2 separate regions of the Homo sapiens genome follow, and region 2 is linked to region 1. Evidence: promoter capture Hi-C in human tissues and cell types (Jung and others, 2019). All regions are on one chromosome and are shown on one strand. The core of a region is centred on a gene start or on the middle of the fragment in contact, and the rest is flanking DNA. Distances in the headings are between cores, read along the strand shown. Region 1 holds the start of CCDC14 (coiled-coil domain containing 14). Region 2 overlaps MYLK (myosin light chain kinase).

Region 1 (7,345 bases), core at 2,160-4,659:
ATAGACATGAGAAAGTCCCTGATTCCCCCCCTAGTTCCACCCTCCAGATGTAGTCACTGTTGGCAGTTTTATTTATAATTTCTCTTCACATATTTAATTTCATCTCCAGATAGCTTTGAGCTGTAACTACCAAACTTTCTAAAGTTATACGGCATTCTATTATATGCTTGAATATGTGCTCCATCCTTCTAAGAATGTCACTGAGAATACATTTTTTAAAAACTGGGTTGGTAAGAGTTATACGTCTTGAGATAACTTGGATTATGATGGAGGGTCATGAAGCCAGCAGTGAGAACCAACAATGTAGGAAATAAGACCTTGTATAACATCACACCACTGGTCTCTGCATCACACTCTCAGGGTCCTTCCCTTTGGTATATTTATGTCGATGTCTTGGCTGGAATCATAATAAAAAATCCAAGCCATGACACTATAATACTATACCCTGGATCGAGTCCAAAAACAACTACCACAATTAAAGTACACTGTCTGAGGTATATGTCTGGCATAACTGTAAGATTACATATGGTGTTTCTCCAAAAAATATACACAAGGCTATATTATAGAAAATCTGGTAAAGAAAACTACCCATGATAAAAGCACCTTGAAACAGTAACTGTCATATTGGAACAATTCCTTTCAATTTTTTTTTGTAGTTTCTACTATGAAATAATAGTACAAAGATGCCCTATATATGCTTCACTCAGATTCTGTGAACCTTGACATTTTCCATATTCTCTCTCAATATATATACACAGCAGTACTTTTTGCCTGAACCATTAGAGTTAAGTTTGCAGATACAATACTCCTTTACTCCTAAATGTTTCCTAAAAACAAGGCCATTCTCTAACATAACCACAGTATAATTATCAAAACCAGGAAATTAACATTGATACAGAATTACAATCTAATATTCAGACCTTATTCACATGTTGCCAATTATCCCAATACTGTTCTTTACAAAAAAAAACCCAAAAAACAAAAATCCCTCTGGTTCACGCCCAATCCATGCTCACATTCTGTTTCTATGAGTTTTAACTATTTAGGTACTTTATGTAAGTAAAATCATGCAGTATTTGTCCTTCTGTGACTAGCTTATTTCACTTAGCATAATGTCTTCAAGTTTTGTCTCTGTTGTTGCATATGACAGCTATTTCTTTCTTTTTAAAGGTTGAATAATAGTCCATTGTATGTATATACCATATTTTCTTTATCTGTTCATCTGCAGATAGAATTTGGGTTGTTCCCACATTTGGCTATTGTGAATAGTGCTGCAATGAACACAAGAGTGCAAATATCTCTTCTATATCCTGATTTCAATTCTTTTGGATAAATTCCCAGAAGTAGAATTGCTGGGTGATATAGTTCTATATTTAATTTGGTGAGGAATCTCCATATTGTTTTCCATAGCAGCTATACCATTTTACATTCCCACTGACAGTGTACAAGGGTTCCAATTCTTCCACATCCTTGCCAACACTTGTTTTCATTTTTTTAATGTCATCCTAACAGGGGTTAGGTGATAGCTCATTGTGGTTTTAATTTGCATTTCCTGGATTAGTGATGTTGAGCATCTTTTCATATACCTGCTGGCCATCTGTACATTTTCTTTGGAGAAATGTCTATTCAAATCCTTTTTTCGTTTTTTAACCAGGTTATGTGTTGTTCTGCTTTTGAGTTATAGAAATTCCTTATATGTATTTTGGATATTATTTATCAGATACATGGCTTGGAAATATTTTCTCCCATTCTGTAGATTGCCTTTTCACTCCATTAATCATTTCCTGTGCTGTGCAGAAGCTTTTTAGTTTGATGTGTCCATGCTCTTCTTATATTACCCCTGCTCAGCCCTGGAGTTGGTCATTTCTCCAAGAAGCCATGACTCCTTAGTGGACAGTGGTACGTGGAAACCAAGATCTAGGTACTAGATGTGTTCTTTGCTATTGGGGCCTCCAATCTTTTTTCATATGCATTTTTTACTTAGTCATAATACCTAGATATTTGCAATTTTAAATCCTGTGTTTTCTACTTTTAAATCTTTTTCATATTCATAAATTTTTAATGGTTGTATAATATTTCCTTCAGTGGAAGTAATATAATAATGGTCTTGGTTTGCTTCATATTTTTCACAATTAAAAAAACAAACCTGGAATAAGCCTTTCTATCTACTGAAAACAGCCTTTTTATATTTAGGATTAAAAAGAAAATTATTTGGTGAAAGGTTATTAGCAATTTAATAACCCTTGATACAAACTGCAAAGCTGCTCTCCAAAAGGAGTGTCCTAATCACAATACAGGAGAATCAGTTTGCTTTATTTTACACTTACTTCTACGAGGTTATTATCATTAAACTTTTAATTTTGCTATTTGAGAATCATATAAGCATTTCTTAGTAGTCATATCTCCTACCAACAAGTACAAGATAATACTGCCTTTGTAGAATGACTTACAGTGTGCTAAGGTCTTTCATTTTCACTTAATCCATACCCTGTGAGTTATTATTTGTGAGGTGGGAACCTAAATTTCAGAAAAGTGGTTTGTTCAAAGTCATACATCTACTAGGTAAAATGTTTAAAAGAAGAATGGACTCTGGCATCAGTTTTGTGAGTCTGAATCTTGTTTCCACAGCTGTGTAACTGCCAAGTTATTTGAATCCTCCAGCCCTCGATTTCCTCATATATAAAATAGGGATAATAGTACTTACCTCATAAGGATATCGTGACTATTAAATGAGTTATTCTATGTAATACATAAAAGCACTTACAGTAGCATCTGCCACATAAGTCCTATCTAAATGTTGGCTGCTGTTATCATTAAGATGGTGGCAAACTACGTGTTTTAAAGGGAACTAAATTTTGTTGTATGTCTACAACAACTGTGTGATCGATGTTTTTACCGGGTTCTCTTATTTAACCTTCTCAATTCTTTGAGACAGGATTTTATGCTTATTTCTGCCTATTTTGCAGCTAAGGAATAGGAAGTTCTGAGCAGTAAAAAGTAGTAGACTCTCAATCTGCAGGTGACTGAAGCTAGGAGAGGTTAAGTCACTCGACGCAGCGGCGAAGGCTGGGACTCGAACCCGGGCCTGACCCCAAAGCCGGCGCTCTAGACTAGGGCTACGACGATTTAAACAGAAACATCTAGAGACCGAGCGGCCGTGTTACGACGGGAAGATTAGGTGTTCCCTGCACCTCTGTCCCAGCACTTTAATGTCGCCGCATTGTCTTTGTCTTTTTTCGAGCAGAGTTTTACAAGTTCCTGGCCCGAAAACCCCCCTGTCCCTCTCCATCCCCACAGCGGACTCCTCAGGTCCTCAGCCCTCACCTGGCCCGGTCGAGCTCCAGACCTGACCATCTCTCGCCGCCTCAGAGAAGCCCAGACCGAGGGAAGTGAAGCCTCACGGTAAAAAGAATTAACCGCCGTGGGCTCCCGGACCTTCTTGGCCCGCCCGCCGAGCTTCCGCTTCCGGAAAGGATCCCGCCGAATGCCGCGCTTCATAGTCTCCGACGCGCCTCCACTCCCTTTCTCCTGCTCCAGGCCCAGCGCCTTGGGCGTACGCAATAGACCCCTCCAAGCTTCCCGGCTTGTCACCCACCGGCAGGGGTTGGGAGAAGCCAATAAACGGCGAACGGGGCGGGGCCAAGGCATGGCTGGGGCGGGGCCGGGGCGGAGCCGCCGAGAAAAGAGTTAAGCGGAGGTTCCAGGACTTGCGGTGGGGAAAACGGGGACGAGGACCCGCCAGCGCCAGAGGATGGGACAGGGGTAGGAGGCGAATAGGTTTCAGAAGGAATTGAGCGCGACTTTTTGGGTTTTCGCTCTTTATTTTTAGTTTGGCATCGTGTGCCTTTTGGAAGATTTTGTTCTTGATATTCTATAAAAATAAGACCTCGGGGTTGTTACCTTTGCGTGTGATGGAAATTGCAGAATTATTCCCTGTGGCCACTGATCTCAGAACGGTGTTCATTAGTTGGGATTTTGGGTTTACTTCCATGCGTACTTGTCTCCTCTTATGTTGAGGTAATTACTTTTGATGAAAAATGACACAACATTCTTAGTATTGGCATGTGCACTCATTTTAATGAGGATTTTAGTCATTGGTTTTTAAGGCATTGAGTTTTGGGTTAATGATTTAAATCAAGTTGAAGAGAGATAACTCAGTTTATTCCATTTCAACTGTCACCCAGGCAGGAGTGCAGTGGCGCAATCTCAGCTCACTGCAACCTCTGCCTCCTGGGTTCCAGCGATTCTCCTGCCTCAGCCTCCTGAAGAGCTGGGATTACAGGTGCGTGCCACCACACGCGGCTAATTTTTGTATTTTTAGTAGAGACAGGGTTTCACCCTGTTGGCCAGGCTGGTCTCACACTCCTGACCTCAGGTGATCCGCCCGCCTTGGCCTCCAAAGTGCTGGAATTACAGTGGTGAGCCACCATGCCCGGCCTCATTTCTTTTTAATGGAGAAAAGAGCTACGCTTTAAAAGTCTGTTACAATTAATGTCAAAGCCCAGGAACTAAAATATGTCCACCAAAATATCACACACTTATCCTGAGTGATTTTAGGAAATGAGTATTTCACAGATTTAGTTTTGAATTAGATCAAACTGTGAAAACCTCTCCTTTCCTTCCCCAGCCCTCACATAACTTCATAACTTGCTGACATATTCACCTGAAATTAAGGGGTTTTTTTTAGTTAAGTTGATATTTTTTGAATTCATATTGATTTTTCTTAATACATGTTTATTTTAGAAAATATAGATAAGCAAAAAGGAAAAGACCACCCATAACCCCATTACCCATGAGTTATCACTTTGAACAGCTTGGTGCATTCCCTTCAAGATTTTTTCCACCTACATATATATGTATAAATGTATTACGACAATATGAAATAATAGGTATTACTGTAACATGCGTGTTTTCTCTTAATATCTAATCAACATTGTTTCTCATTAGTCTACAATTATAAAATGGCTGCCTGGTGTTCCATGATTCACTTCCCTAGTGTTGGGAATGTTATGCCCCCACCCCGTTTCATTTTGTTGTTTGCTATTATAAATAATGTTGCAGTGAGCTGAGATCTGCAAATGAACTAGATAGAGAGTGGAGAGCAGAGTATTCTAAAGATGTGGAGACAGCATGATGTTGAGAAAGAGAAACCCAGAGAGTTCCTTGCTGCTGAAGTATAGACAGTGGGGATGGAAATATATGTAGGGCCAGACTATGCAGTCCTCATAGACTACATGATTTGGCTTATTATCCTAAGGCCATTGGGAATACATAAAAGTTCAAGCAGGGGACACAGTGAACTGACTGGGGTTTTACAAAGATCAATGGCTGTAGTGTAGAGCAGGAATCTGAAATCTACAGTCCCTGGCAAAATTCAGTCTGCCATTCTTGGATGTAGCCTGAGAACAGTTTTTACATTTTCAGGTAGTTTTTTTTAAGTCAAAAGAATTATATTGTGTGATGTGAAAAGTTACCTGAAAATCATCTCAGTGTTACAAAGTTTTATTGGAACACAGTCACGCTAATGTGTTTACACATTATCTGTGCTACAACTGCCAAAGTTGAGTATTTGTGATAGAGACCGTCTAGCCGGCCAAGCCTAAGATATTTACTATCTGGGCCTTTACAGAAGAAGTTTGCTGATCACTAGCATAGAGGGTGCTTGGGGGAAAGGCAAGTATGGGTGTGAGCAAGTTCTCTCCTCCTGCATCCATTCTCTGTCCTCCCCTTGGACTGACATCAGTCAGACATGCCCTCCAGCTTCAGGTTCTGTTTAGTCAATAGAAGAGGGAGAGAATGGGATATTCCTGCTCTCTCAGCACCGTTTGGCTGATGCACTGGCCCTCTGCATCATCAGGGGAGCCCCTGGAGCTCCAGTCCTCTCACACTCTAATAAAACATGTCCTTCCCTTTGTCTTTTCAGTCTTAGGGGTGATAATGGTTTGCTAGTCCCTGGGTGCCTCAACTCCCTTGTTGTTTTCCTTGTCCATTATGTAAACCTTTTTCTGTTTGTTTTGTTTTGTTTTTTGAGACAGAGTCTCGCTCTTTCGCCCAGGCCGGACTGCAGTGGTGCTGTGTAGGCTCACTGCAAGCTCCGCCTCCTGGGTTCACGCCATTCTCCTGCCTCAGCCTCCCGAGTAGCTGGGACTACAGGCGCCTGCCACCACGCCCGGCTAATTTTTTGTATTTTTAATAGAGGCGGGGTTTCACCATGTTAGCCAAGATGGTCTCCATCTCCTGACCTCGTGATCCGCCCGCCTCAGCCTCCCAAAGTGCTGGGATTACAGGTGTGAGCCACCGCGCCCGGCCGTAAACCTTTTAATTGTCCTCAAAAATCTAGATTGTCTTCTGTTCCCTGTGAGGACCAGACTGATAGGAAGTCCAGATGAAATATGTTGGTAGCTGGGAGGGGATGAGGGGACCTAAGGGAGGTGGTGGTGAGGGAAGGTGAAGAGGACATATTTGAGAGATGCATAGGAGGTAAAATGGAGAGCACTTGGTGATAAGAGTTGGAAAGTCAGGCAAGGGGAAGGTATTTGTTGACCCTGGTTTCTGGGTTTTGTATCTTGGCAGGTGGTGGGAGAGATCCACATTTAGGAAGGAAGCTTGTGAATTCATTTCTCTCCAACATTTTATTATGAAAAAAATGCAAACCAGGAAAGTCATTTTTGGATTTATTAAATTAGGGAGTACTTTGGAGTCATCCAAGAAAAGATGTCAAGTTAGCTACTGGATAGTTGAGTCTGGAGCGTGGCAAAGACCTGTGGGCTGCAGATACACCTTTCCGAGTTGCCTGTGGCTTCCGAACTTGTTCTCAAATTACTTCCTCAAGAAAGCCTCTCTATCCTGCCCCTGCAAACTAACTGTGTGCCTCATGCTACTATGTAGTAGCATCGTTTCTCACAATTATAAACTTGTGTTTAGTTATGTAATATCTGTCTTCCTAAGTAGAATTTAATCTCTATGAAAGCAGGGACCTCACCTTGTTCAAAGCAGTATCCCCAGTGCCTAGCACAATCCCTTGCACTTGTAGGAATTTCTTAATTATTTGTTGAATAAACCAATGAATCAGCCATTGTTTGGACTGCTTTGGTGCACTGGGGCTGACAGCTACTTGAATGTCCAAGGCTCAGGATTGTCCAGGACTAGCCCTTTGAGCTTGGTCCGGAGGTTTAGTGCCTCTAGTATCATGGATACACAACTCTGCTTGTCTATCCAGTCTTTCATAATTCAGCACATTGGACCAATGACTTTGCCAATTGGCTCACCTCTGAAGTGTGAAAGTCTCTGTTCAGGTTTGACCATGTTCCAGTTTATAGGAAATGACCAAAGTTGAAAGTATATG
Region 2 (7,345 bases), core at 1,852-4,351, 150 kb before region 1:
CAAGATTGCACCACTGCACTCCAGCCTGGGCAACAAGAGTGAAACTTCGTCTAAAAAACAAAAACAAACAAACAAAAAGAAGACCTCTAAACATATAATCTTAGGTGCACATCCTGGCAGTCTCTCTGTGAGCTCCAGCACCTGCAGAGCCACTCGCACACTCTGCTCTGCAGACAGCAGCTCAGACACACTATCCTAAACCTCTCACCAGTAAGCAGGATGGAGCATACTAAGGAAACCTATTTGACAATCCCAGTTGCCCTGCTTCTGAGACTAGCTTGTCAGTCTGCTAGTGATGAGCTAAGCCTTGTATTACAGGAAATAGGACGTACACGCAGTAGCCAAATGCCACAGCCACAACACACAGCCCTCTCAGCAAGGAAATTCCAGAAGTTCATAATTTCCTGCGGTTCTTATACATAGGAATCCTCTTCTATATTCCAACTTCTTAGGCCACTGTTGTTTGTCTAAAAGGCCTACTCCACAGCTGGACAAAAGGATTGAGAAGATGGGACTCTCCTGACTATTTCGAACAGTTTACCTGATCATGGTTCTCAAGCTTTATCAGGTTTGTGCTCTCAGCAGAGCAGGAAGAACTAGGGCCTAAGGCTCAGAACTCATTACCTGTCCGCACACCCATCACTGTGTATTTACTGAGTGCCCACAATACCCGCTAGGACTATAAATAAGGTGAGAGGTTCAACTACCTCCTCCCAATACAATGACATAAGTGCTGTAGGTGAAACGCGGACATAGGCCCCTCCCCCAGACCTCAGGACAGAATGGCCGTGTTTCCCGTGGTTCCCATAGTCTCCCTGTGACTTCCCTCTCCTCCCCTGCCCCTGCTTCCCTTCCCAATCAAGGTGGCCACTCTCTGGAACGAAGAGTTCAATCTGCATCTCCCTGTGAGCCATGGGTGAGCAGGGTGGCCCTGGGTCTGGAGCTGGCGTCTGTTGAGCCTAGGCCTTTCTGGGCCTCAATCTCAGGCTTGGGCCGGCCCACTGTGTCAGGGTTCAGCCCTCTCTGCTTCATTTCTGGCGCTCAATAGAATACAAAATGAGGAAATGTAAGCCAGCTCTAAGCCTGGCCCTGGCTCTGCCAATGGGGATGCCAGTCATGTCTCTTCTAGATGAACAATCCCCCCAACAGGCTCAGGACAGTTCTCACCTTCCCTGTCGTGCTCCTCAGGTAGGCAGGTGAACCCACTCAAGCACCAGCTGCATGCAATGCCTGTGGCAGGACTGGCCGGGAGTCCAGTCAGACCCTTGGCTGTCCTCATGTGACTCACACAGGCCCTTCCACACCATGCCCTGCCTGTCTCCCAAAGGACACCCTCCAGTTCCAGGTTGTCTGCAGGGCAGTCAGTGATGTTGCTGAGAACAACTGATTTTTGCCATCTGCAATGATGGGTGATAACAGAGATCGACACACTTTTCTCCCTTAACAGTCTCATTTTTCTAGCAATCATGGCTACCTTTTTCTCCTCACACTTCACCAAAGATACTAATGAGGCTAACACATGTTTCTCCTTTTCTCCCAGCCCTAAATCTCTTCTAGAATGGGGCTAACTGGAAAGAAATGGTGACCTCTGAGAACCTGGAGAAGGTATGGAAAAAACCAATGATCAACTGAGAGCACAGCCCATCAGCAGGAACACAAAGAGGAACTTCTGCTCGGAGGTGTCAGCTCAGCTGGTTTCCAGTGGAGAGGAGAAAGTGCGTGTCCCCTCTCAACCCTTTCTGAAACAGGGAGCCATTTGCACTCGGGGTGAGGGAGCCCTTCCACACAGGATCCTCCATCAGCTGCAAGGGGGAAGTACAGGCAAATGCAGGGCCAACAGGGAGATCAATGGACCACCATCAGCTATTAGCTGCACTCATACCTGGCTCAGGGATCATGGGCCTTGAGGATATGAGGCTCAACTTCCAATAGGGAATTTGGAATCCTATTGGAGAAAACAGATTATCAAAGAGAAAAATAGAGCCCCAGGAGCCAGGAAAGTGGGATGGAAAATTAAAAAGCTAATGGGGCATTGACCTGTTCAAAGGCCCTAAAACCCTTCATGCTTGTCTACTCCTGAACTTGAAATTCCACACCCTACCGGGGACACTGTGCTAAACAAAGGCAGCAGTTCATTTTTTTTAGCATTCAGCCTGGAGTGCCTAGCATTTATTGAGTGTTAGATGCTCTCTCTCGCCAACAGTAACAAGATTGGTATAGTGCTCTGAAGAGCAGTATGTTGTTTATCATCCCTGTAAAGCTTTGAAACGGCAATTCTAGTGCCAGAACATTTTCTTTCAAGCAATTTAGGTAAGCTTCTACCTGGTGGACACAGCAGCCAGCCAGCTAGGCCCCTCCAGGTGTGATTGATTAGGCCAGAAAGCAGTACTTCACATACTTATTTGTATCATTTTTCTATAAAAACATATCTATTAAATTAACAATTCACTTCTAACTACTAACCCCCATTTCTAACAGTTATATAACATTGAACAGAATGCTATCACCTGGAGCTTTTATCATTAACGCTCAATATAAAGAATCCATTTTTAATCTCACTCTGGTTTTTTGTCATTACCCAATATGGAACTGTTCTTAGAGAAAGCAGACCCCTGGGACTTCTCAGAGTCAGCGATAGAGATTCAGGACGCCTACACTGAAGAACTCTTGCCCCCCAGTTCTGTTCCCCCTCATACCTATTAGTCAGGGCTGGGTTCTATCACCTTAATGGCTTCATCCCGCTCTGCTTCTGGGCTCAAGAGAAAAACTGAATTCATTATTGACAGCACCTGTTCCTTGTGATGTAAGCTTAAACCAAATGAGGGGCGGTCAGAACCAACTTGCTTACACCTGTTTCAGTTTAAGACTTTGCAGTGGTACTTTCTCCCCCACTGAAAGTCAGGTTTCCCCACCCAACCTCTCTAGGAAGCTATGGTTTGACATTAGCCCATGCTTGCTCAGGTGTCCTCTCCACAGATCCCGGCCAATTCCATATCTAGCCTGGCCTCTAAAGCAGAGCGTTCTCTCTTGAGTGAGACAGTGGTTTCCCCTTATCTCTTAACTAGAGACTTAAAACAGTGTCCAGGTGCCAAAAGGTAATTTCTTGCTTAAGTCCAGGAAAAGCCAGAGTTTGCCCCAACACTTGTCACCTGTGTCCCTCAACCAACCAACTGAACAAAACATCTATGAAAGACCTAGATGTCTCTTTACTTTGGAAATCCCTGATGCAGGGCCAACTGTTAATCTGTTTGTTCACACATCCAGTCAGCTGTGCCTGTCACGGCTTCTCCGTTGACTGGGGGCCCCACTGAGCTGAGGCTGTCTGTGAGGAGATACTTTGTGAAGGTCTTTACCTCCTGTTTCGCAGTGCTCCCAAGATGTCCAGCCAGGCATATTGGGGCACTCAGGGTCACACCAATTCTCCTGTGGGCACAGGGAAGGGGGCCTTCTCCACAATCCCACCCCACTTTTCTTGCAAGATGAACCTAGGCTTGGCTCCCAGGCTAGATCACTGATGGTCAACTTGGCAGTCTGCTCAGTAATGGGGTTCCCAAAAAACGTGCCTTGACAGAGCCGATAGAAGAAAGGGCAGACAGCAGGAAGTAAACAGAGCCCACTCAGGCCAAGTCCCTATCTGCTTAAAGTTATCATCCTCTACCATTTGAACTGATTTTTGCACTAGCCATACCAGGGCTTTTTCATGAAAAGTCAAGAACTTGCTAATGCTAAAAGGTTGCAAATAGGGGAAGGTTCAGCTGGCAAATTATTTACCCTTACTTAAGCTTCTGCTTATTGAGATTTTAATGGTCATGTACCAGGTTTGTGGGATGGGGGAGGAAGACTGCAAGGGGAAAAGGAGCTCTTGGGTCAAAGTTAAATATGAATTCTAGCCACATGCTGGGGCAGCTTGGGAATAATTACCTTGGTTATCTTAATCAGGATAGACAGCAGAACTGTATTCATCTACAACACCTGGGCCACTTCTCCATCAGGCTGGGCCCACCTCTGCGTCAGGGAATCTTAATTCACTGTCTCTCTCTCTCTTTTTTTTTTTTGAGATGGAGTCTCGCTCTGTTGCCCAGGCTGGAATGCAGTGACGTGATCTCAGCTCACTGCAACCTCTGCCTCCCGGGTTCAAGCGATTCTCCTGCCTCAGCCTCCCGAGTTGCTGGGATTACAGACATGTGCGACCACGCCTGACTAATTTTTGTATTTTTAGTAGAGACGGGGTTTCACCATGTTGGCCAGGCTGGGCTCGAACTCCCAACCTCAAGCAATCTGCCTGCCTTAGCCTCCCAAAGTGCTGGGATTACAGGCATGAGCCACCATGCCCGGACAATTCACGGCCTCTTAAGCACTAGAGGCAACCAGCAGAGCAACTGTCATCAACCCAGAATGTCCTCCAACCTCCTTTTCAATAATTAGGGTGACCACATAACATATTATCCAAATGAGAGCTCTTGAGAATGGAAAGGGCTCTTTGAATACTCATGCTGGGACTATTCAGGGGAGCCGGGCTATACATAAGGCCACCTCTACCCTAATCACTCCCATGTCTCCCTAAGTCTAGACACAAGACATGACTTCAAAGATATCTTCCCCATGCAGCTGTGTCAAATTTGGTGCCTGCCCTGCCTGTGTAGGCACTGACCCAGAAGGCTGCCACAGAAACACTGACTCATGGGCCCTGTTCCTGTGTCTCGGGCTCAGGGATAAATTTGGTTACAGATACCAAGCCTCTAGAAAAACAAAAGACAAAGGTATCTTCCCCGGCCACATTCACCCTATTCCGGCCAAGCTCAGGCTTCATGTCCCCTCTGTCCAGGAACCTGTTATTTCACACTCCGGGTTATTTTGGACATGTTCTCATAGCTGTCCTTACTCCTTTGCTAGACAGACAGTGTCTTGGTTTCTGACTCTTTACAGGAATGTTGAACTCACCCGAGTTCCCTTGTCTCATCATCTTTTGTCATTCATAAACAAATAAACAATATTGGCTAAAAGTTTGGTCGTGAGTACGATTACAAATGACTTTTCCCCCAATATAAATACTATAATTTTCTGTAATATTTTTCCAATCTGTTTCTATGTATGTACTTTTAAAAATAAAATTATATATACAAATTATCATTGCCTTCATTTTTCATGCTTTTCCTCAGATATGGAACACTCTTCATAAATCTTATTTTCAGTGACTGTATCATATTCTAGCAAGTAGACAAGCCAAAACTTAATGATGCCCCTGTTATTTACTATTTAGGTTGCTTCCAATTTCATTAAAACAAACAGTTTCATGGACATAAACTGATCCTTTCTTTCTTTCTTTCTTTCTTTTTTTAGATGGAGTCTCATTCTGTTACCCAGGCTGGAGTACAGCGGCATGATCTCGGCTCACTGCAACCTCCACCTCCCAGGTTCAAGCAAGTCTCCTGTCTCAGCCTCCCGAGTAGCTAGGACTACAGGCACCTGACACCATGCCTGGCTAATTTTTGTATTTTTAGTAGAGACAGGGTTTCACCTTGTTGGTCAGGCTGGTCTTGAACTCCTGACCTCAGGTGATTCACCCACCTTGGCCTCCCAAAGCACTGGGATTACAGGCATGAGCCACCACACCTGGCCCCTTTATTTCCATAATAATCCTTTAGATTATTTCCCCAAGATACATTTCAAGAACTTCAATTACTGAGTCAGAGTGCATGGGATTTTATGGCTCTTGCATCCAGGTCCTCTTGATTCCTGTCAACTTGCCTGGTGCTGACTTGTGGCTCCCCAGTATTTTACTCTCCTGCCTCAGCCTCCGTTTAAGCTTGTTCTTCTTGATCTGGTGCCAGAATTCAGGCAAGTATCAGGTCCAGGGATTCCTACATGGTTTGAAGGGATGTACACTTAGATACCCAACCAAGTTAGGCAAGCCTTGGGAAGTGAGGCAAGTATTGAGTAAGACAGAAAAGGATCCAAGCTTCGAGAAGTCGTGAAGTTCAAAACGATTGCTATCAAGCAAAACATGAGGCTTCTGCCCTCTCCAGTATAATCCTGCCAGTGGGGGCAGCTCTGGAATGCCTCCCATGGTCTTTTCCACCCAGCTGAGTCCTACTCCAACCTCAAGGTCCATCTCTTCTCTAAGCCCTCCCCACCCAGCAGGATCTAAGAGCCTCTAAAGCCCTATCTATGACATGGGTCCACAAGCACCCCATCCATCACATCGTGCCCACCAACCTATGAAAAGTAAGAAAAATGAGGACAACATGGGGAGCTTTTTATACCGCTTAACGTAAATAATTTAAAAGGCTGTCCTCTAATCTCAGTTTATGTCCTTCAAACTTTTTAGAAATTCATGTGTTCTTTCATTTATTTGTAAAAATGTAAATGGCTTTGTTTAATTAGAAGTTTGTTCATTCATCACGTTTTTGAGAGCTTACTACCTGCCAGGTGCTATAATAGTCCCTGGAGACATAGCAGTGAACAAAACAGATGAAGCTTCCCCTGCTCAGCCCAGCTCAGATTCTGCAGATCAAGGCCTTGTCTCCCCAGCTGCAATGCCTATGAGCAGGACCTGGGTTTGTACATCTTTGGATCTGCACACAGTAAGTTCTTAATACACACTTGCTGAGGACAGAGTTTTATAATGATATCAACACTTCCTGGGAGGATGGTGGGAGCACTGGTGTGCACATCAGTATGCATTGATGGCATACATCCTATGGGTCTCCCATATGTATGTATGGCATATGTATGCATGCATGGAAGCATGAAGTAGGCGCTGAAGTCAGCCAGCTCTGGCACCACACTGCCTGGCTTCCAGCCCCAGCTCTGCTGCAAGACCTTCAGCAAAGTTCTTGGACCTCTTTCAGCTCATGTCCTCCCTATAATGGGGGGAAGATGGTAACAACACTTGTCTCAGAGGTCATGAGGACTGAAGTCCTCAACACAGTGCTGGTTCCCTGGAAGCCCTCCTTAAATGTGGCCTGTTGCAGCTATAACCATAGCACCAATTGGGTGCTAAATGAACCAGCTATTAGGCGACAGAGTCAACATTAAACCAAGAGAAAACTTCCACACTCCAGGGAACCAACCTGAAATTGAAGATGTATTTCACTGGTTGGCCAGAAAAGTTAATAACATAAGACAGAAATTTTCATTTGTACATAAAAGAGAGGGAAAAAAAACTAGACAGACTTTCTCCTCCTTCTCCAAATATGCCAATAATAGAAATATGGCACAATGCCCCTGCCAAATCCAGGTTTCTGTAATGATGGGCACGTGCCAGAACTCAACCACAAACAGCCAGGCTGAGTTGGGGGGAGCAGAATTTGGGAATAAACACACACAGATCGGGGACTTTCCT

What was found. The method cuts DNA at HindIII sites, captures the fragments that hold promoters and counts their contacts. A contact is called where the count stands out against the background at its distance.
Region 2: a fragment that was not itself captured here is called in contact with the fragment with the promoter of CCDC14 in region 1 in 2 of the 25 tissues and cell types used here (IMR-90 fibroblasts and pancreas).

The regions. Positions count from the first base shown.
Region 1 is chr3:123,957,820-123,965,164 of GRCh38, forward strand. It overlaps CCDC14 (coiled-coil domain containing 14), which reads right to left and starts at 3,410. Exons shown (of 13, transcript NM_001366335.1): 1 at 3,325-3,410. The coding sequence starts at 3,354. RefSeq lists a silencer at 3,418-3,728. The HindIII fragment of the contact is 4,558 bases long and covers 2,688-7,245 here.
Region 2 is chr3:123,809,474-123,816,818 of GRCh38, forward strand. The region is part of intron 3 of MYLK (myosin light chain kinase); the gene reads right to left. It overlaps LOC124906346 (small nucleolar RNA SNORA5), which reads left to right and starts at 4,604; the gene lies at 4,604-4,734. The HindIII fragment of the contact is 3,385 bases long and covers 1,410-4,794 here.